Regions from separate parts of the Homo sapiens genome. Here regions 2 and 3 are each linked to region 1. The links are contacts of gene promoters, found by promoter capture Hi-C in human tissues and cell types (Jung and others, 2019). All regions are on one chromosome and are shown on one strand. Each heading gives the region's core, a stretch centred on a gene start or on the middle of the fragment in contact. The rest is flanking DNA. Distances are from core to core; before and after follow the strand shown.

What was found. The method cuts DNA at HindIII sites, captures the fragments that hold promoters and counts their contacts. A contact is called where the count stands out against the background at its distance.
Region 2: a contact is called between a fragment that was not itself captured here and the fragment with the promoter of POLDIP3 in region 1, in 1 of the 25 tissues and cell types used here (lymphoblastoid cells).
Region 3: a contact is called between a fragment that was not itself captured here and the fragment with the promoter of POLDIP3 in region 1, in 1 of the 25 tissues and cell types used here (dorsolateral prefrontal cortex).

What each region holds. Positions count from the first base shown.
Region 1 is chr22:42,612,899-42,617,197 of GRCh38, forward strand. POLDIP3 (DNA polymerase delta interacting protein 3) reads right to left here and starts at 1,985. Exons shown (of 9, transcript NM_032311.5): 1 at 1,901-1,985. The coding sequence starts at 1,959. It overlaps RNU12 (RNA, U12 small nuclear), which reads left to right and starts at 2,346; the gene lies at 2,346-2,495. It overlaps LOC124905127 (a long non-coding RNA gene), which reads right to left and starts at 1,881. Exons shown (of 2, transcript XR_007068118.1): 1 at 1-1,881. RefSeq lists enhancers at 205-748, 1,293-1,836, 1,837-2,380, 1,873-2,052, 2,133-2,192 and 1 more and silencers at 1,473-1,802, 2,343-2,402. The HindIII fragment of the contact is 15,212 bases long and covers 1-4,299 here.
Region 2 is chr22:43,136,612-43,141,274 of GRCh38, forward strand. It overlaps MCAT (malonyl-CoA-acyl carrier protein transacylase), which reads right to left. Exons shown (of 4, transcript NM_173467.5): 2 at 4,551-4,638; 3 at 470-687. Among named protein-coding and RNA genes, the nearest start is that of MCAT, 4.5 kb to the right of the region's middle. RefSeq lists an enhancer at 828-997. The HindIII fragment of the contact is 7,455 bases long and covers 1-4,663 here.
Region 3 is chr22:42,033,400-42,037,990 of GRCh38, forward strand. It overlaps a transcript of WBP2NL not described here. Among named protein-coding and RNA genes, the nearest start is that of NAGA, 35 kb to the right of the region's middle. The HindIII fragment of the contact is 4,997 bases long and covers 1-4,097 here.

The sequences.
Region 1 (4,299 bases), core at 735-3,234:
ACTGCCTAGTTCAGAACTCCCCTGGCCAGGGAAACAGAACCCAACAGTGGCAAGTGCCAGGTGTATCCAGCTGCAAGGCCCCTGTTCCTGTGGATCCACACATAACCACCCCCCATTCCTGCAGCCCCACCTACTGCCCAACACAAAACTCTGCACACACTAAAACCAAAAACATAGAGATCAAATAGACTACAGTGCAGTCCACCTGCAGTCAGAAACTGGCGGAGTGACCTCAGAGAGAGAAGAACCTGGGGTGGATCATTCTGTCGTTTCCAAAGGAACCTACAAAACGTGGATGGACTTAGAAGTGGCCAGAGGAGCCAGCACCAGCTTCACATCAGTCACTAGATGGAGATCTGAGAGAGCTTTCACAGTCAGTAGTTGAGGAAACAAATACTAATGTGTGCCCGTTACGAACCACAAGCCAGGTAAGTGCTGGCTGCGAATTATGAGGTGGTGGTGGCAGTTGTAGTTGATACAAGTGTCCAGGATGGGGAAGGAGGTGAGGGATACATTTCAGACATCAAGAGAAAAACCTAACCACAGGCATACGGGTGGTATTAATAAACATCTGCGGAATGGCCGGGCCGGTGGCTCACGCCTGTAATCCCAGCACTTTAGGAGGCCGAGGCGGGAGGATCACCTGAGGTCAGGAGTTCGAAACCAGCCTGACCAACACAGTGAAACTTCCATCTCTACTAAAAATACAAAAATTAGCCGGGCGTGGTGGTGCACACCTGTAGTCCCTGCTACTTGGGAGGCTGAGGCAGGAGAATCGCTGGAACCGGGGAGGCGGAGGTTGCAGTGAGCCGAGATGGCACCACTGCACTCCAGCCTGGGCGACAGAGCAACACCCCGTCTCAAAAAAAACATAAAAATAAAAATAAACATCTGCTGAGAGAACAAATGTCTGAGAAAACAATATCTAACATATTTACATCCTGGCTATTTACAAAGACATTTAAACTTAATGTGTGTTGGGAAACTATTGGGCAAAGTTCTCACTTCTTCATACAGATGAACTCAGCTCACGAAGGCTTGAAATGACTAACAACATTTAAGGGTCTAGGGGAAGTTTGGGAGACATGACTGCAAATCACCTCCATGGCTCCTCAGCCAGCTCAAGCACTTTCTTCTCCCTAAGGAAATAACCAATCTCCTGCCCAACACACCAGTTTTTCAAGCCCATGTAGGAGGCCAACTCAGCCAGCAATTAAATCGCGCTCAGCCCGCCGCTCAGTTCTCCGTGGCCTCGGGCAAGTCACTCTACCACTTCCAGCCTCAAGTTCCCCATCAGTAAAAGGTGGGTAACATGAATAGCTAGCAGACAACAGGACTGTAAAAGATTAAATGAGGCATCGTGTATATGAAAGGGCTCAGAAAACTTAAAACGCCGCACAAAGAGAGGCGAGTGTTAACAGGGGCCGCGTGCAGGGGGATTTGGGCTTGCGCCTCAGCTTCGGCGGTCGGAGCAAGTCACTTCCCCGCTACTAAACTTCGGTTGTCTCAACTCTAAGATGGGTGGAGACCAGGCAGCGCCGAGATCACGGAGCGGGGCCCAAATGCCAGTCCACACAGGCAAGGAGGCTGCGCCGCCGAGACCCCAGGACCCCGGAACGCGGGGGCCCCAGGGGGCAGCCCCTCAGGTCCACGAGGCGGCACCCTGTCCCCGCCGCGGCCCCGTCGGCCTCCCAGGGCCGCCAGAGGGACTGCGCCTCGGCCAGTGGGCGGGCGGTCGGGGCCACGGCGGGGACGGCGGCAGCCGGCCAATGAGGAGCGCGGCTGTGGTCGGGGGCGGGCGCACCCGGTCCTCCGCGTCGCTCCCGGATCGCTACCTCCCCCGCCTCGAGCTCCACTAGGCCGAGGACCCTAAACCCCGAAGAAAGGAAAGGCCTCTCACCGTCCTTTCGCCGCCGCCCCGCGCTTCCTGATGAGTTCGTCCAGGGAGATGTCCGCCATCTTGCTCCGCCGAGCAAGCCGAAAGCAGTCGAGACCCCGCGAGCCCGCCCCTTCGGCCGCTAGGGAGCGACGAACTACTTCCGGCGTCCGCGGACCAACTCTCGCGACAGCCAGCTCAAAGCAGGCAAGAACCGGAAGGGGCGGGGACGTTCCCCGTGAGCCTTCGCGGTGCTGGCTGCTCATCTGCATACGGAAGTTCGGCACATTATGAATTATTTATTTTCCTCGAGGGAAAAAATTAAATGAAAAGCAACAAAATACATTATTAACAAGTGAGACAAACTTCAATGGAACTGGATCATGACCTCAACAGTCAACTACGATAGTCATCATACGCCTAATGAGAATAGAATTCATTACCTAGGAAATAAACTAAAAACGTCCTTATGCCTTAAACTTATGAGTAAGGAAAATAACGATTCGGGGTGACGCCCGAATCCTCACTGCTAATGTGAGACGAATTTTTGAGCGGGTAAAGGTCGCCCTCAAGGTGACCCGCCTACTTTGCGGGATGCCTGGGAGTTGCGATCTGCCCGACCTTATTCACGCCTAAAAAGTAGACTGACTGTGGGGTGGTCGTGTTTTTTGTTTCTTGTTGGTAGGTGGTGAATGCGTTTTTTTCGTTGTTTTCTCCGTTACTCAGGCTGCCAGTTGCTTGGCAGTCTTGTCGCTGGCTGTGGACGCTCTGCACTTCATCACCGTCCCCAGCTGCGCTTTGAGCCGGTCTAAGGTTGCCCACAGTATTGACGTTGGGACCCACGAAACTGGCAATTTCCATGTGTGCGGCCTTACCCAGTTCTCCCAAACTTCTGCGTATAACCGCTTCTCTGTGCTTCAGAAAGATAAGTCCGGCCCCGGCCTCACACAGCAGCTCAGTTCGTGACAGCGTTTAATATGTAAAATGGAGCAAATAATTTATAGGGCGTTGGGAGAGTTAAAGAGACTAATTCATTTACGTGTTAAATACAGGGAATGGCTTTTGCATTGATATAACCCCAGCCTCCAGCATGCGCCAGACCTGACGTAGGTGTTCGGCACATATTTTGTCCAATCACTCTAAAAATACACTCCATGCCCTTAGAACAGGTGGGGTTATGTCCTCTTGGCCATCAGGCATCAGGAGCTCCGTGCAGAAACTGGGTAAGAGGCCAGGAGCGGTGGCTCATGTCTGTAATCTCAGCACTTTGGGAGGCTGAGGCGGGTGGATCACCTGAAGTCAGGAGGTCGAGACCAGCCTGGCCAACACGGAGAAACCCCGTCTCTACTGAAAAAAAAAAAAAGAAAGAAAAAAATTAGCCGGGCGCGGTGGCACGGCCTGAAATCCCACCTACTCAGGAGCCTGAGGCAGAAGAATCGCTTGAACTCGGGAGGCGGAGGTTGCGGTGAGCCGAGATCGCGCCATTGCACTCCAGCCTAGGCGACAGAGCAAGACTCCGTTTCAAAAAAAAAAAAAAAAGAAAGAAAGAAAGAAACTGGGTAAGAGCGATCCTGCAATCCTCCTGCCTCAGCCTCCTGAGTAGCTGGGATTACAGGCCCGCCCCACCACGCCGGGCTCCTTCCCAGACCTCTTTTCCTCACCCATAGAACGGGACCATTAAGCCTTTCCTCCCTTCCAGGCGTGCCAGGAGGAACGCGCAAGAGGTGGGAGGAGGACAGGCTGGCCAGTGGGGTCAGCTGGGCAGTGTAGGGCAGATGCGGAGGACAATTTTATTTTTATTTTTGAGACGGTGTCTCGCTCTGTCGCCCAGGCTGGAGTGCAGTGGCACAATCTCAGCTCACCACAGCCTCCGCCTCCCGGGTTCAAGCGATTCTCCTGTCTCAGCCACCCGAGTAGCTGGGATTACAGGCGCACGCCACCACGCCCGGCTAATTTTTGTATTTTTAGTAGAGACGGGGGTTTCACAATGTTGGCCAGGCTGGTCTCGAACTCCTGACCTCAGGTGATCCACCTGCTTCGGCCTCCCAAAGTGCTGGGATTACAAGCATGAGACACAGCACCCGGCCTCCTTTCTTGTTCTTTTACAACTCATTTAGAGCTGTGTTGATTTTTAAAATTCTTCGTATAGGTAGGTGATACTGCCTGTGAATTCTGCAGCGTAAAGGGCCCGTTACAACTGTTATTTTAAAGGTGTTGGCCAGGCATGGTGGCTCACACCTGTGATCCCAGCACTTTGGGAGGCCGAGGAGGGTGGGTCACCTGAGGTCAGGAGTTTCAGACCAGTCTGACCAACATGGTGAAACCCCATCTCTACTAAAAATACAAACAAATTAGCCGGTGTGGTGGTGCACGCCTGTAATCCCCAGGTATTCCGGAGACTGAGGCAATAGAACCGCTTGAAC
Region 2 (4,663 bases), core at 1,177-3,676, 520 kb after region 1:
CCCCAGCCCTTGATAAATGTTTGGGGAAGTAGCAAATGGAAGGAAATACGGTGGAAAGGAAATGAACTCCAGGGCAAAAACAGACACCTAAAAAAAGCAGGGCAGGCAGAGCAATCTAGCAGAAAACAAATCTCTTTTCTCTAAGGAAGCAACCAGATCACAGGCTCCTCAGAAGCCCAGAATGTACTACGGGAAGGGCCCTGGAGATCAGCTGGCCCTGCCCCTTTACTTTAGACATGGGCTGGCTGGTTGGTTCCAGACCCCATTCTACACGTGGTGGAGCAGGGCAGCATTCTTGCTCCTGCCTGCTTTGCAGCACTCGGTCTACCTCACTGCCCTGGCCCCAAAATACTTCCTAAAGACCGGGCTGGACCCAGCACCCGCCAGACTGCTAGGCCTCACGGGTGTGGAGCAGTTCCAACCCTCCGTACTGGACTGGCCTATGAAGGCAGTTCCCATCAACACCCACCTCTTGGTGTCCTGAAATCACCCTGCAATCTGGAAAGAGGTAGTTGGACACTTCACATACGGGGTTCTCTATGCCTAAAGACTTGCAGTGTTCCCGGGCTTCCAAACAGGCGAAGTTGAACTTGGACTGAGGCTGGCCGAGGACAGACAGCATCCCACTGGGGACAGCTTCTGAAGCTTCCTGCATGGCCTCAGCTCGGATTTTCACTGCATACAAACCTGGCCAGAGAGAAGCGCATTTGGAAAAATGAGGGCACAGAATGAAGGAGAAAAGGCCAGGCCTGAGAAACAAAGCCCAAGCTCCACTCTGCACTAGAGACAGGGGCACTGGTGTCTGCCACCAGCCAGCAGGGCCACAGTTCCACACACCTCCATCGACTGCACAAGCGCTCACCACCAAAAGTATGCTGCTGTGCTTGGCACTATACAAACTAACCCAAGGAGCTTCCTGCTATAAAGCTGGTTTGGAGTAGGACAGTGGTGCTCAACAGGCCGGGGGCAGTGTCCGGAGACGTTTTCCGGTTGTTCTGACTAGGGGAGAGTGCCACTGACGTCTAGTGGGTAGAGTCCAGGGATGCTGCTCAACATGCTGCACTGCACAGGTCAGCCCCCCTTGCCCCCAACAAAACAAATGACCTGGCCCAATAGCGCCACTGTTTTTTTTTTTTTTTAAATAGTGCCACTATTGAGAAACCCTGGTAAAAGGTAAAGAGGAACAGGGTGGAAGCCACATTGCCTTAGCCAAGTCACAACCTCCTTGAGGTTCAAATTTTTAGTTAGTAAAATGAGGATAATAATATCTAATCTGCCTGGGCTGTTGTGAAAGCTGGGAATTATTATTAGTTAGTTTATTAAGAGAGATCAGGCCGGGCATGGTGGCTTATGCCTGTAATCCCAGCACTTTGGGAGGCTGAGGCAGGACGGCTTGAGCCCAAGGAGCTCGACACCAGCCTGAGCAACATAGGGAGACCCTGTCCCTGCAAAAAATAAAATACAAATTAGCCAGGCATGGTGGTGCCTGCCTGTAGTCCCAGATGCTTGGGAGGCTGACACGGAAGGATCACTTGTGACCAGCAGGTTGAGGCTGCAGCTGTAGTAAGCTATGATTGCTCCACTGCACACCAGCCTGGTGACAGAGCAAGACCCTGTCTCAAAACAAGAACAACAAAAAAGAACCATCAGAGACATGGGCTACTGTACTACATGAATTTCAGTGACATAATTGTCATAAGTCAAGTGTTACTGTCCCCACTTAGAGCTGGAGAACCTGACACAGCCAATGCAGATGAACGAAAACCTATGACTCCTGATTCAGTGTGGCTCAAGAGCATGGAGAGAGGGCAGGCAGTGCCAATGATAATAAGAGTGGCCTGAGGGCTGGTCGCTGTGGCTCGCACCTGTAGTTCCGGCACTTTGGGAGGCCAAGGCAGGCAGATCACTTGAGCTCAGGAGTTCGAGACCAGACTAGACAACATGGTAAAACCCTGTCACTACCAAAAATACAAAAATTAGCCGGGCGTGGCAGTGTGCGCCTGTGGTCCCAGCTACTTGGGAGGCTGAGGTGGGAGGATTGCTGGAGCCCAGGAAGTTGAGGCTACAGTGAGCTGTGTTCATGCCACTGTATTCCAGCCTGGGTGACAGAGCGAGACCCTGTCTCAAAAATCCCTACAAAGCCACACATAAGAATGGCCTGAAACTACCAGACCCCTGACACCCTGGTCCTGCTTCCTGGGCAGAGAGAAGAGATGACCAGACTGAGAAGAGATTAAGGGACCTGCACAGTGTTTCACAGGTCAACAGAGAGGTCTAAGGAGCAAATCCTGACATATCTTCATTCACTTAGCACTTCTATGTACTGGACTTTTAGCTCCCTTACACAAGAACAGGAGGACAAATACATAAACAGCCTGTGACATCAGGTACTTAGGAGGCTAAGGCAGGAGGACTGCTTGAGATCAGGAGTTAGAGGCTGCAGTGAGCTATGGTTGCATCACTGCACTCAAGGCTGGAAGACAGAGGAAAACTCTGTCTCTTAAAAAACAAATGAACAAGAGCCTGTGACAAGAAGTAGAAGAAAACATACAAGAAAAGGGAGGAGAGCACGCAGACATCCTCCCACAGAGACATTCAAAACTATGTAAAATGTCAAGGGAAAAAAGTAGGCCAGGCACAGTGGCTAATGCCTGTAAGTAATCCCAGCACTGTAGGAGGCTGAAGCTGGAGGATCACTTGAGTCAGGAGTTCCAGACCAGCCCTGGCAACATAGCGAGACCCCATCTCTACAAAAACTTCTAAAATTAGCTGGGCATGATGGTGTGAGCCTGTAGTCCCAGTTAGTCTGGAGACTGAAGCGGGAGGATCACTTGAGGCCAAGAGGCTGAGGCTGCAGTGAGCTACGACTGCACCACTGCACTGCAGCTGGGGTGACAGAGCAAGATACTGCCTCAAAAAAGAAAAAGAAAAAGAAAACACAAAAGTGTAACTATGCTATAATTCTGCACTTTTTTTTTTTTTTTTGACACAGAGTCTCATTCTCTAACCCAAGCTGGAGTGCAGTGGCACAATCTCGGCTCACTGCAACCTCTGCCTCCTGGTTCAAGTGATTCTTGTGCCTCAGCCTCCCAAGTAGCTAAGATTACAGGTGCACGCCACCACACCCAGATAATTTTTGAATTTTTAGTAGAGATGGGGTTTTACCACGTTGGTCAGGCTGGTCTCAAACTCCTGCCTTAGGTGATCCACCCACCTTGGCCTCCCAAAGTGCTGGGCTGGGATTACAGGCGTGAGCCACCACACCAAGCCTAATTCTGCACATTATGTACACATAAAATGATACATGTAATAAAATTGTTTCATAAAATGTGAAATTATGAAACTTTCCTTAATAATGTTATAACGCTTAAAAAAAAAGCACTGCAGTGAAATTCACATAAAATATAATTAACCACTTTAATGTGTATAATTCAGTGGTATTTGGGGTATTCATAATGTTGTACAACCACCAACTCTCTCTAGTTTCAAACACTCCATGTCCACTATGTAGGCACTCTCCATTTCTCCCTCTCCAGTCCCAATAACCTCTCGTGTTTCTATACTAGATTCTTTTTTGTTTGTTTTGGACAGGGTCTTGCTCTGTCACCCATGCCGCAGTGCAGTGGCACAATCGTGGCTCACTGCAGCCTCAGACTCAGGGGCTCAAGTGATCTTCCCTCAGCCTCCTGAGTAGCTGGAATTACAGATGCATGCCACTAAGTGCAGCTAATTTTGTGTATGTGTGTGTGTGTGACAGGGTGTCACTCTGTCACCCAGGCTGGAATGCAGTGGCACGATCACAGCTCACTGCAGCTTTGACCTCCTGGGTTCAGGTAATCCTCCCACCTCATCCTCCCAAGTACTCGAGCTGGGACTACAGGCGCACACCAACATGCCTGGCTAATTTTTGTATTTTCGGTAGAGATGGGGTTTTCACCATGTTGCCCAGGGTGGTCTAAAACTCCTGGGCTCAAACATCTATCTGCCTCTGCCTCCCAAAGTGCTGGCATTACAGGTGTGAATCACTGCACCCAACGTAATTTTTGTTTTTTGTTGGGGGCAGAGATGAAGGTCTCACTATGTGGCCCAAGATGGTCTGGAACTCCTGGCCTCAAGTGGTCCTCCTGCCTTGGCCTCCCAAAGCACTGGGATTACAGACGTAAGCCATGGTTCCTGGCCAGCAAAAATCTTAAGAAGTAAAACTGATATGGCTCCAGATCCAATATTTATTTACTCTTTAATTCAACGAATATCTACTGAACACATACTCTCGTGTTGCAGGTGCTGCAGGTATGAGTGCACAGGATAGCGGGTTAGACAGTTCAGCAAGCAGATTTCATGAGATTACAAAAATAAGGGAAATCCCTAATGAATCCTTCAGTCTTGAAAAGGAATCACAGCAAAGCCCTGTCCTCATGTGCCAATGTCACCCCTGTCCATGTGCTCCCTTCCCATCACCTGAGTGGGTCCAGTATCATTTTTGGCAGTGTCCCTTACCCCTAATGAGCCCAAGACCACAGCCTTGCATAAAACCAAACTCCTTCCTGTACCTTCAGCAAATTCCATGGCTCCGGCAAACACTAGGGCTGCAAACTCTCCCACACTGAATCCAGCAGCAGCAACACAGTTCTCAATCACCTGTGGGGACAGATGCAGAACGTGA
Region 3 (4,591 bases), core at 349-2,848, 580 kb before region 1:
TCTCTTTGCCCACAACATGTTGAGCAAGGGGCATGTCTCAACCCTGTTTGTGTTACAGGTCTTTTAGCCTCATTTAGTGGGTCCAAAGTTCTTCAATGAGGTGCACAGACAAGTAGAGGGTGAGCAATGAGAATGAGGTACACAGACAAGTGGAGGGTGAGCAAGACAAACAGGAGCTATTGAGTGACAATAGCTCAGAGGAGGCCTTGGAGTGGGTAGCTCCTATCTGCAGGCAGGTCTTCCTGTCATCTCTGTGGCTCTCAGCAGAGAGGAGGCCCTGGAGTGGGTAGCTCTTCACTGCAGCTCATTGTGCTGATGTCTGCTGCTCTCAACAGAGAGGGGTCCTGGAATGGGTAGCTCCTCTCTGCAGCTGGTCGTCCCAACATCTGCTTAGCTCTGGCTGAGCCCAGGGATTTTATGGGCCTCAGAGGGGAAGAAGTACATATCGATTGGTCCATATGTGGCCATGGGCAGGCCCAGAAAAGCCATCACAAGTTCTCACTCCAGTCCATGGGACTGGCATCCTGGCCCCCAGCTTTCAAGCCCTCCCTGGCCTGAAGGTGTGACGTCACCAGGGACCCATCCCCTTCTACCCAGGAACCTGTCTGCCTCCTTCCGTTGATGGTACCCAGGCTGTAGGTGCCAAGCCAAGCTGCCCTCAGCTCCCCTCAGTTTCCTTCTATGCTCATTGTGCCCAAAATCTGGAGGGGGCCAGGGCGGCAGGGGGCTGGTGTGTCAGCACTGCCCAACTTTGCTCTGAGATCAGAGAAGGCAGGGAGAAGCTAGGCAGTAGGAACAGGCATTTCCATGCCTGCAAGGGCAAGGGGGTATCGGGGGACCTGCCCCAATAATCACGTAGGTTCTTTTCTATTTTCCTAAGCGTCGGCTGACTTGAGAAATAAAAGGACAGAGTACAAAAGAGAGAAATTTTAAAGCTGGGCATCCGGGGGAGACATCACACGTTGGTAGGATCTGTGATGCCCCACAAGCCACAAAAACCAGCAAGTTTTTATTAGGGATTTTCAAAAGGGGAGGGAGTGTGCGAATAGGTGTGGGTGACAGACATCAAGTACTTAACAGGGTAATAGAATATCACAAGGCAAGTGGAGGCAGGGTGAGATCACATTGCTAATGAAGTTTCAGGCACCATTGTCATTGATAACATCTTATCAGGAGACAGGGTTTTGAGATCACCCGGTCTGACCAAAGTTTATTAGGCGGGAATTTCCTCTTCCTAATAAGCCTGGGAGCGCTATGGGAGACTGGAGTTTATTTCACCTCTGCAATCTCGACCATAAGAGACAGGTACGCCCCGGGGGGGCCAGTTCAGAGACCTACCCCTAGGTGCGCATTCTCTTTCTCAGGGACTTTCCATGCTGAGAAAGGAATTCAGTGATATTTCTCCCATTTGCTTTTGAAAGAAGAGAAATATGGCTCTGTTCTGCCCGGCTCACCGGTGGTCAGAGTTTAAGGTTATCTCTCTTATTCCCTGAACAATTGCTGTTATCCTGTTCTTTTTTCAGGGTGCCCACATTTCATATTGCTCAAACACATATGCTGTACAATTTGTGTAGTTAACGCAATTATTACAGGGTCCTGAGACGATACACATCCTTCTCAGCTGACAGGATTAAGAGATTAAAGCAAAGACAGGCATAGGAAATCACAAGGATATTTACTGGGGAAGTGATAAGTGTCCATTAAATCTTTACAATTTATGTTTAGAGACTGCAGTAAAGACAGGCATAAGAAATTACAAAAGTATTAATTTGGGGAACTAATAAATGTCCATAAAATCTTCACAATCCACATTCTTCTGTCATGACTTCAGCCGGTCCCTCCGTTTGGGGTCCCTGACTTCCCGCAACAAGGGGGGCCTTCCTGGGCCCCCAAGAGTGCAAGGATGCCTGGGTCTGCAGCCACGGTTTGGGCAGCTGGAGCTGTGCCTGGGAGGGTGGAGCTCCCACCTGCCCCTCTGGGCCCTGAGAGCACAGGGATGCCTGGGTCTGCAGCCACGGCTTGGGCGGCTGCAGCAGCATCCAGGAAGCTCTCACCCCAACTTGGAAGGGGCGGGTCTCGCGCTTGTCCCTGGCTTTTGCCTTCTCCATGGAGCATGCAGCCCTGGCCATGCCTAGTTGCTGCAGCCAGCGTGATGGCAGCAGCTGCTCCAGATGGCCTGCTGCTGCCATCATTAATATGTAGCTATTAAACACAGTTGGTGAATCACTTTTTTGTCTCTTAAATTATTTTGCAATAATTTAATATTTATGACATACAAAAATTATATATATTTAATGTATACAACTGAATGTTTTTGTGAAACATTGTGAAATGACCATCACATTCCAACTAATTAACATATCTATTACCTGTATATAGTTACCATTTTTATACCCTTTGACCAACATCCTCCATTTCCCCCTCTTCCCAGCCCCTGGCAACCACCATCCTACTTTCTGTTTCTATAGTTTGACTATTTTAGATTCTACATAAAAGGGAGATCATGCAGTATTTCTCTTTCTGTGTCTTGCCTATTTTGTTTAACATAACTTCCTCCAGCTTCATTCATTTTGTTACAAATGGCAGGATTTTCTTTTTTAAAGGCTGAATAATAGTCTGTTTTGTATGTGTGTATAATCACATTTTCTTTATCTGTTCATCACTGAAGGACATTTAGGTTGTTTCCATATCTTGACTGTCGTGCAAAATGCTACAGTGAACAATGGGAGTACAGATATCCCTTTACTATCCTATAGGATTGTTTGATCATATGTTCTATTTTTTTTTTTCTTTGAGACCAAGTCTCGCTCTGTCGCCCAGGTTGGAGTGCAGTGGCGTGATCTGGGCTCACTGCAAGCTCTGCCTCCTGGGTTCACACCATTCTCCTGCCTCAGCCTCCCGAGCAGCTGGGACCACAGGCATCTGCCACCATGCCCGGCTAATTTTTTTTACTTTTAGTAGAGATGGGGTTTCAGCATGTTAGCCAGGATGGTCTTGATCTCTTGGCCTTGTGATCTCCCCGCCTCGGCCTCCCAAAGTGCTGGGATTACGGGCGTGAGCCACCGTGCCCGGCCATGTGTTCTATTTTTAATTTTTTGGGAACCTTCATACTTTTTCCATAATGGCTGTATGAATGTATATTCCTAACAGCAGTGTACAAGGGTTCTCTTTTCTCCACATCCTTGACAACATTTGTTATCTTTTATCTTTTTGATAATAGCCTAAAAGGTGTGAAGTGATATCTCATTATGGTTTTGATCTGCATTTACCTGATGATTACAAATGTTGAACACATTTTCATATGCTTATTGGCCATCTGAATTTCCTTTTTTGAGAAGTGTCTATTTTGGTTCTTGGCCCATTTTTTAATCCAGTTATTTGTATTTTTAGCATTGAGTTGTATGAGTTCCTTATATATTTTGGATATTAATCCCTTATCAGCTATATAGTTTCCAAACATTATTTTCCCATTCTGTAGGTTGCCTTTTCATTTTTTGGATTATTTCTTCTGCTCTGCAGAAGCTTTTTAGTTTGATGTAATCCCACTTGTCTATTTTTTCTTTCATTGCCTGTGCTTTTGGTGTCATATTGAGAAAATTATTACAAGACCAATGTCAAGGTTTTCCCAATGTTTTCTTCGAGGAATTTTGCAGTTTCAAGTTTTACATTTGAGCCTTTTGTCTATTTGAGTTGATTGTTGTGTAGTATGAGATGGGGTCAGATTTCATTTGTGTGTGTGTGTGTGTGTGTGTGTGTGTGTGTGTGTAGATACCCAGTTTTTCCAGTACTGTTTATTGAACAGATTATCCTTTCCCGATTGTGTGTTCTTAGCACCCTTGTCAAAGTAAGTTGTTCATTAATATGTGAGTTTATTTCTGGGTTCTCTGTTCTGTTCCATTTTGTCTGTGTCTGTTTTTATGCCAGCACCATACTATTTTGGTGATAGCTTTGTAAGATAGATAATTTGTAGTCAGGAAGTGTGATGTCTCCAGCTTTTTGTTCTCGTTCAAAATTGCTTTGGCTATTCAGGGTTTTTTGTAGTTCCATATGAATTTTAGGATTTTTTTTTTCTATTTTTATAAAAAGTGCAATTGGGATTTTGATAGGGATTGCATTGAATCTGTAGATTGCTTTAGGTAGTATGGACACTTAGACGATATTAATTCTTCCAATCTGTGAACATGAGATGTCTTTCCACTTATTTGTGTTTTTATTCCATTTATTTGTGTCAGTTATTTTGCTGAGTCCCGTAAATTCCTAAGTATTTTAAAATTTTTGTTGCTAAAGTAAATGAGGTTGCATTCTTAATTTCCCTTTCAGATAGTTCATCTTTGGTATATAGAGATGCTATGGAGTTTTATATGTTGATTTTGTGTCCTGAAACTACGGAATTCATTCATTAGTTCTACCAGTTTCGGGGGGAGGTGCGGGGAGAGAGAGAGAGAGTGAGAGTGTGTGTGTGTGTGTGTGTGTGTGTGTGTGTTTGTAGTCTTTTGAGCTTTTTATGTATATGGTCATGGCATGCAAAAATAATCTTACTTTTTCCTTTCTGACTTGGAAGCCTCTGTTTTTCTTGCCTGATTGCCCTGGC